2 separate regions of the Homo sapiens genome follow, and region 1 is linked to region 2. Evidence: promoter capture Hi-C in human tissues and cell types (Jung and others, 2019). All regions are on one chromosome and are shown on one strand. The core of a region is centred on a gene start or on the middle of the fragment in contact, and the rest is flanking DNA. Distances in the headings are between cores, read along the strand shown. Region 1 overlaps NUP210 (nucleoporin 210). Region 2 holds the start of IQSEC1 (IQ motif and Sec7 domain ArfGEF 1).

Region 1 (2,885 bases), core at 1-2,500, 240 kb after region 2:
GGGAGCTTGTGCGGGATCCCGTCATCCTGGACTCTCCACACAGCGTCCACGCATGGATGGCCATGGGCATGAGTCTCTGGATCTCCCTGAGGGTAGCCCAGCCTCGGCCTGGAGCACAGGGGCCTGTGATCTGAGAATCTCAGATCCAGAATCAGGAGCTGGGAAGAGAGGACTTTTCCAAGGGTCTCCTCCCCCAGGCCCTGGGGAGTCCCTTCTGGATGGGCAGGCCCTGGGCTGGCGGCCGCCCTCCATCATTGGCCCAGGCCGGGCTCTAGGGCCTGCTGGGAAGCTGTCTGGGGCCCTGCGCCTGATGAGCTGCCATGAAAGTGGCCGCCTCTCACACTGGCAGGCGGTGGCTCAGATCTGCTGAGGTTCTGGAGTGGCACAGGAACAGGAGGAGCAAATGACACTGGGTCTTTGTGCTGAGGCAGGACACAGCGGCTTTCCGAAACACACACACAGAAAATATGACTCCTGCTGCCATCTCAAGGACATTTTCCTAAGGACAGTCCTGGTGTCCTGATGGAGTGAAAGGGATCACACGTGGGATGTCCCAGCAGGGCCTAAGCCAAGTCCATCAGATGTCTCAACGGCTTATGAAACAAAAACAGAGGACTGAAGTCTGTTCACAGTGGCCCATGGTTGGGCAGCAGCCCTGGGTGAGCTCCTGTGTTCTCCAGCCTCTCGCTCACCCAGGGCTTGGCTATCCTGGCCTCCAGGTGCTGGTTCCTGAGGCTTCCCTTGCGGCAGTGGCGCAGATACAGGGACACTCATGTCCCATTGCTCCTCAGAAGTCCTAGCAGCAGCCAGACTAGGGGCAAAGTAAGTTTTCACAGGGGGAAAAACCCCACCAAAAACCCCCTAAAGTAACTGGACAATCCTTTCCCTGAGACCACTACAGTAACATCACCCACAGACAACTTCTAAAGAGCACTTCTAACTGCTCAAAGTCTTGAGAAGGGAAAGATTTTAGCAAGGCTAGGAAAATAAAAATGCAACAGCACATTGTCCAGAAACCCTAGACAACCATGCAAAAAGGAATGAGCCAAAAAGTCTTAGCTTTGTAAGACTTGAAAGGAAAAAAACACACATTTAAAACTCCTACATAAAATGAGCTAATGGGCAGAGCCGAAACTACAGCTCTGTGTGAAGAGACGGCAGTGAAGCTGGCCTGGGGCCGGGGCACTCATCTGGAGGGGCTTGTTCCAGTGTGAATGCAGCAGGGATGTTCCATCTTGGGGGTGCACGAGGCTCGGCTGAGACCCATCCTCCGGGAACCTTCACGCGGCCTAGTGGGAGGCATAGGCTGGGCTCCACAGCCCTGAGGGAGGGCTGGCTTTGCGAGCAGGAGGCAATGCATTGGGAGATGTGGGTGATGAGGCAGCGAAATCTAGGGTGGGAAGAGAGACGATGTTAGCAGCAGAGCCAGGGAAAGCGGCGCACTCTTCAGTTACAGCCAGCATTCAGCAGGCGCCTGCCTCACCCAGGACACTCTCACAGTGATGCCCCGAGGCCTCCCCGGCCAGCAGAGGGAAGTCCACGGGCACCTGCTGAGCTGGCCTCATTCACACAGAGAGGCCTGGGATGCCACCCTAACACCCAGGAGCGCAGAGCCTTCCGGGGAGAACGTGTCTCAAGTTTCAGGACCACAGCAGCATCTGTCCAGGGGGCATGAGGCAGGGAGGCCCCGTGCATCTGAATGCAATGCAGCCTCGGGCAAGAGCGCCACAGGAACAAAGACCCCGAGGGGAGCAGCGATTCTGCAGTGCTCCGGAGACCTTGCAGAGATCCAGGTGTGGCTCCCAAAACCCAGGGAGGAGCACGCTGAGAGAGGCAGCTAGAAAGGGCAGGCACCTGCTGCCAGAGCAGCTGCAGAAGGCAGCAGAGCCGCGAGGAGGCCGAGCACCCGTGGCCTCCCCTGGGTGCCGCTTTGCAGGTAGAGAAGTCGTCAGGCAGAAGACAAGGGCGTGTGGGCTCTCCTTACCCAGGAAAGTGCTTCTACCCACACAACTGGGTCTTCTTTCAAAAAAATTCAGGGACCCCCCTGAAGCCGGTCCATGGGCCCCCATGTCAGCAGACACGAGCTCGAGGACTCTTTGTGTAGGGGAGAGAACCCTCAAATGGGAATCAGGAGACATTAAAGGGCCTTCACGTACAGCAGTACAGGCTGGGCACTGCATTGTTTGAGAGAGAAACTACATTCACACAGTGAGGTGCTCCCTGGAGCTGTGCAGGGTCACCAGGGCTTCGGGGTCACCAGAGAGACAGTTAGACCATTGAAATAAATGACTTTGCCCATTCTTCTGGGAAATTTCTCATCAGAACTACCCAGAATCCCCATCTGTGAGTCAGCTCGTCCAACCCCAGCTTAGAGCCTTCTGAGGCAGCCTCAGCAATTGGGCATCCAGTCCTAGCATGCACTCCTGCCTAGACAGAGCTCCTTGCTGCCCATACCTCCACCCAGCATGGCTCTACCTGGGGAAAGCTCTTGCTGAACCAGGACTGGCAGCCCCTCTGCCCCGACCCTCCTGGCTCCCACATCTGTCCTCTGGGCCTCAGGCTCCTTTGGCCCAGGCAAGGGCCTGTTGAGACTTAGGGTTCAGGAGCCTCGACCCCTCCCCCAGGGCTCTTCTCTTTCTCAGCAGCTCTGCCTGGTTGTGCCTGCAGGGGGGCTACTCACAGTGGGGGCTGTGTCCAGGGCTGGCTCGAGGCGTGAGGGCTGCAGGCACAGCAAGATCCCGGGGCGTGCAGACAGTGTGGTAGGCTGCAAGAGCACAGGGTTGGTTAGAGCAGGTCGGGGCAGGGGAACAGACCCAGAGATACAGGCAGCCTCCTCACCTATGATCATGACCGCTGTCCCAGCCAACAGGGCGAAGAGCGTGAAG
Region 2 (5,818 bases), core at 2,085-4,584:
GGGTGGGGGTGGGGGCCCGCCGGCAGGGCTCCACTAGGCTGAGGATAGCCTGGCTGTGCCATGCACAGGGCCGCTGGAGCAAGTCTGTCCCGATTTGACATGTGGCATGCTGGGGAAGGGACACCACTGCCAAATGTACGGCAGGAAACAGCTGTGTGACCCCAGTCAAGTTCCTTCCCCTCTCTGAGCCTCAGTTTCCTCTTCTGTAAAACGGGATCGACAGTATCACATTTTACAGCAGTTGGTGAGACCCCATGAGGCAACTAAGCATGAGAACGCTTTGCAATCAAGTTGGGCAGCTCTGATAGTGGCTACAGTGCAACTGTTGGGAAAGTTAAACATCTAGAGATGCTCAACACCCCATCTCCTTTCCACACTGAAAGGCAGGGTAACAATAAGGTCTGAGCAGCAGGTGCTGGGAGAGCCTGGGCCTAGAAGTGGGCCTGCCGCGGGTTCTGGGTGGGGAGTAATGGTGGGCAAACACAGGCTTATCAAGTGCAGCAGGGTAACCTCAGGAAAGGCCTGCTCTTGGTTACAAGATCCTTGCGTACAAACAGAGCCACCCCCTCCAAGTATCTTTGGTATTTCTGGTGCCAATAGGTTTGGTGGCAGAGCGGGGATGGCCTGGGAGTCACAATGCTCAGACTGGGAGCCTGAGAGCTGGAGAAGAGTGAAAAGACCCACAGAAAAGAAAGACAGTGAGCGCTAAGCCCCCTCGGGCCAGCCCCTCTCTTAGGCAGGAAGGCTAGACGAGCTTATTCCAGGAATCAGCAAATCCACCAGAGCCACGTGTTCAAATGCAGGTGGCTGGGCCCCCAACAGATTGAAGCAGACTCTCCAGGGAAGAGTATTGGAATCCATATAGAACATTGTCCCTGCAAAACTGCAATTGGATAGGCTTGGGCAACGCAGCCACAGTGAATAGCTGCATCACGGGAACATCAACCACACCTGGACATTAAAATCATCCGGAAAATGAAAAAGATCCTGAGGCTTGAGCCCTCCCCCAAACCTAGAAACCAGAATGTCTGGGGGTGGGACCCACACAGTTTTTTTTTGTTTTTTTTTTTTTGTTTGTTTCTTTAACTGCTCCTCAAGTGATTCCAGTATAGCTCCTGGGCTACAACCCCCACCCCAGGCTAGTATACTCCAGGGTTCCAGTAGAACTGTGCTGAGCCTCAGTTTCCCCATCTCTAAAATGGGGTTCTTAGTGCCTGCCCAGACAAGGCCTTTGTGAGGATGACATTTCTGAGCATTGGAGGCAAGCAGGCACTGGGCCAAGTAATCTGAATATGAATTGTCACATTTCATCCTCATGACATCTCCCCTCCCCGATGTAACAGCCCTGAGAGTTTAGAATTTCTCTGGCATCAGGCTCCTGGGCCCAGGCAAAGGTGTGGCAGGGAGGAGACAGCTGTCTCAGGAGGACCTATTCCCAGCCACTGGGGTGGAAGTTCCACGCTGGGAAAGGATTTACTATTTGTTTCAGAAAATGCAGCGAGGGCCTTGCCACAGGGAGTGAGAACTTTGGTGTGCTCTGCTCGCATCGACAAACCAACCTGTGAGCTTCTCCACTAAAAAAGCAAGTGAGCATCACAGCGAACCAGAGGCCACCGTCATCCCTCGAACCAGAGGCCACCGCCATCCCCCAAACCAGAGGCCGCCATCCCCCGAACCAGAGGCCACTGCCATTCCCTGAACCAGAGGCCACTGCCATCCCCCAAACCAGAGGCCACTGCCATCCCCCAAACCAGAGGCCACCGCCATCCCCCGAACCAGAGGCCACCGCCATCCCCCGTGGGTTGCCGCCTGGCACTGCTGACGCAGCAGAGGCAGAGGTGTGTTTACTTTCCCTCAGTGGAGGTGACGGGGAGCTGCCACTCTATCAGGGGTTCCACAGGCCCCTGCCATGGTAAGGGGCCTCCATCGATTAGGGAGGCCTTGGGGTAGCCCCCAGAAGGCTCCCCACATACTGCTCCAGGCCTCCTTTTCCTAGCCTTGCGACTGAGCCCAGCTCAAGAGGACTCAGCCATGCTCTCTAACCTCCTAAGGTCTGAGGTCACTGCACAGCCCCAAATGAGTGGGTCCTGGGCAAATAGTTTAGGCAGGTGGAGACCTGACGCTGGGCCTCAACCCCCGCAGCCGAGGGTCCCAGAGGAGGGCAAAGGTTGCTCCTCCTAGAACAGCACAGTGCAGCGCCCAGAGAGCTGTGAGGGAAGCTGGCATTCGAACCCCACTGCCCCCTGGGAAGCCTGGCTAACCGAAGCGCAGGCTTTGGTTTCCATAAATACCCGGGCCCGTGATGTCACCGCCCCGTGCAGACTTTCACAGCCTCTGCTGCTGGCGTGAGGCCCAGCACACAGCCGCTCTGCTGCCAGCCCACAGAACACCTGGGCACACAGCTGGACACTGATGCCTCCGTGCTAGGGACGGTGGGCTGGACCTTCACCTGCCCTTGGAGGACGCAGCATCCTGGCCACTGCCTCAGCCTGCCTGCGACCTTCTATCAGGCATGGCTGAAGGGCTGGCCATGGGCGTGCTGGGCAGAGATTCTCTTCCTAAACAGGCTATGGGCTAAACCAAAGCCAAAACAGTAGGAGCCGGTCTGGGCACCCTGAATGTGGATCTGGGAGGGGGGATACCTGCTCTCACAGTTGGGAATTTCACAGCCTGCTGAAGACCTGCTGACTAATAGCCTTTTTCTCATCGTCATCACCAACAAACACCTCCGCTGCAGGGGCCGAGCGCCGGCATCCCTGCTGGGTGGCCAGCTCCCTCTGCAAGTCACCTGCACATCCACCTGCCCCTCCCCCAACGATGCCCCTCACTCCAGCTCCCAGCTCAGCCGGGCCCCTCTGGCCTCTGGCTTCAGGCAGAAACCTGCCACATATACTCACAAATAGCGTCTTCTGCAAGCCATCCTGTGTGAATCCGTTCTTCCCTGTTCTGGCTCCCTCTCCAGCGGGGAGGCTCAACGTGTTTCCAAGAGGAGCAGGCGGCTCAGGCAAGAAGTGGAGGGGAATAAAATTAAATCGCGGGGCGAGTCACATTCCCGGGGGTGGCGGGCTCCTCCAGGGAGGCTGGGGCGGGAGCGGGGGGCGGCGCCAGCAGCGGGCTGTGGAGGGCCCTGGCACGTAGCGCGCGCTCACACCGTGCCCAGGAGCGAGCGAGGACGTCGAGTAACCGTGGTCGCCAGGCTGGGCGGGGGCGTCCACCTCGCTGCTACCTGGGCCCACCTTGGGGTTTTTCCCTCCCGTCCATCCGGGGTGCGGGGCGCGGGGATGAGGAGGGGAGGGTCGAGAGAAGGCTGCCCCGGGTTTGCTCTCGCAGCATCCGGAGAAGGGGCGGGCGCGCCGGAGCCTCCCCCACCCCCCGCGCCCAAGGAGCAACGTAGTGCGGCCGCGCCGGACCAATCGCCGAGGCGCTGGTCGCCATGGCAACAGCAGCATCAGGCGCGGCCGCTCGGCTGCGCCCTCGCGGCAAAGTCACACACCCGGCGGGGCGCGGGGCGCCGGCCCCTTCCTGGCCCGCGCTGGAAACCTGGAAGTCTGTTGCTAAAATGCACGCGCCGCGCGGAGCCTACGATGACACTACTTTCCAAGGCGGCTTTTCTGCCTTCGGCACTGAGACACGCGAGCCGCGGAGCTCTCGGGGCTCTGGCCCTGGAGTGAGGCCGGCCGACTCCAAGGCTGTCTCTGCCACTGAAGGGCGATGAGACCTTGGCAAGCCGCGTCTCTCCTGGGAGTCTTGATTATGCTACTGTGAAAGGGATCATAACAGCTATACCACGGGGTTCCAGGAGGGCGCACCACGCCAGTAGCTGCACGGTGGATGGCAGAGCAGTCCTCGTTTGTGCCAGTCCTGTCCCAAAGGGGGCTGCACGTGGCTAGGGAGAATTTCTGGTCTAGCTATGGTGCCTCTTCCTCTCCCGAGGACCTTCCATGTGCCGGGCAAGTATCTGCCCTCATGATGTTTACAGTCTAAGGGGAAGCCAGGAAGTAAGTGTGCAGATATAGGATTGCACGTGGTGATAAGGATCAGGATGAAAAGAGAGCAGGAAGAGGGGAGGCAGGGACCCCAAGAGAGGCGGGAAGGAGGCTTCTGCCATCAGACGGGGTGGTCGGGAAGGCCCTCTGTGAGGCACGTGTGGCTGAGACTCGGATGACGCAAGAAGCAGGGGAGGAGCTGGCGTCAAGGCTCTGAGGCGGAAGGCAGCCTGGTGTATTTGACTGGCCCAGAGGAGGCCAGCGTGGTGCAGTGTGCGACAGGGAGGTGGAGGGGAGAAGCGCACATCCATCCTCGGCTCCCACACCCGCCTTTCCCACACAGATTTCTCTCTTCCTGTCTGATGTTCATCTGATCCTCTCTGCTTCCTCATCTGTAAACCAGGAATCCCAGACCTATCTCAGAGGCATGTAGATAATATTCTTCCGTGCACGGTAATCCTCAAGACAACCCCAATGAGGCCTAATACTATCATCCTACTTCACGGGGGAGCGCATTAAAGCCAGAGGTTCAGCAACTGGCCCAAGCCACATAGCTGGCGGGCAGTCTGGCTCCAGAGTCTTGGTTCTTGACTGCTTGAAAGCTGCCTCACTGGGAGGAATAAATGAGAGAGGGAGTAGTTGAGACTGGGAATCGGCTGGATGTGGATGGCAGCCCACAGGGCCATTTCCCTTCCTCTTTCCATTCTCTCCAGATTCACACTCACCGAATTTAGAAGGAGTGATGCTGCATCCTTGAGTTCCATTCCATCCTTTACAGGGGAGGAAATGAACCTCAGGGGGTGAGCGATTTGCCTAAAGTTGCACAGCAAAGAGTGGCAGAGGTGGGACTAGGACCCCAGTCTTCCAGCTCAGTGTCCTGGTAGGGAGCAGAGGTTGGAGCTGCGGCCTCAGGTGGCCAAGGTGAGGCATCGAACAGAACTGCATGACGCTTCCCGATCTGCCCTCTCCAGGTGAATCCATATGCATGACCAATCTTCCTGTAGCACGGACCTCCCTCCCTGAGTCATGTGAGGAATTCATATTTCTGTGGGTTAACATGTTGCAGAGCCCACCCCACCCCTCTCCTCACTGGAGTTTCAAAAGATTTTAATAACATCAAAATTCAGCCACTGCATCAGGAGGGCTCACTTTGTGTCAGGTCCAGTTGTTTCATGGTCTCAGTGAATTCTCAGAAGCGCCCTACGAAGTGAACATAATTACCACTCCTGCTTAGATGGGTTGCACCACATACGGGGGTCTCCCATCAAGGCAGCAGCAGAGCCCAGACTAACTCACAGCCTGGCTCGGGCTAGAGCAATGCCCCTCTCAGCCGCCTTGCTCAACTAGCGATTCTCTTCTCACTTCCATCTTCCAGAGGCGGAAACAGGCTCAGAGTGGTGAATTGGATGCCTTGAGTGTGGAGCACCCAGTGTCCCTTTCCTGGGCTTCCTCTTTTGCTCCCTGGGAGGCCCATGACATGCATCTGCACATCCGTTGCTTCTTCAGCACTTCTTCTTATAAACGTACTCTCCTTTTCCTTCCATGTTATGCTGTTATTTCAAAGCAGAGGAAATGGCAAGGACCCTGGCATTCAGATACAAATGCCAAGATTTTAGGCTTTTACAAAACATCATTTACAGGGCACGTGGGTAGTGCCTACAACCCACCTGCACTGGCGCGGTTTTGATTTCTGACATTCAATATCCAGCGCCGGACCAGGCACAGAGGAGGCTCCAAAAAGCGTGGAGCTGGGATTCCGACTCTGATCTCTGACTACGGAACCCACAAGTTCATCCCTTCAGGCAGTGAGAGGTCAGAGAGTCTCAGAAAAG

The links. Contacts are between HindIII fragments. The study calls those that stand out against the background at their distance.
Region 1: a contact is called between a fragment that was not itself captured here and the fragment with the promoter of IQSEC1 in region 2, in 2 of the 25 tissues and cell types used here (dorsolateral prefrontal cortex and spleen).

The regions. Positions count from the first base shown.
Region 1 is chr3:13,316,392-13,319,276 of GRCh38, forward strand. It overlaps NUP210 (nucleoporin 210), which reads right to left. Exons shown (of 40, transcript NM_024923.4): 38 at 2,839-2,885; 39 at 2,681-2,764; 40 at 1-1,390. The coding sequence ends at 1,290. Among named protein-coding and RNA genes, the nearest start is that of NUP210, 100 kb to the right of the region's middle. The HindIII fragment of the contact is 8,541 bases long and covers 1-2,885 here.
Region 2 is chr3:13,070,095-13,075,912 of GRCh38, forward strand. It overlaps IQSEC1 (IQ motif and Sec7 domain ArfGEF 1), which reads right to left and starts at 3,335. Exons shown (of 14, transcript NM_001134382.3): 1 at 2,898-3,335. The coding sequence starts at 2,920. RefSeq lists silencers at 3,251-3,410, 3,531-3,710. The HindIII fragment of the contact is 23,458 bases long and covers 1-5,818 here.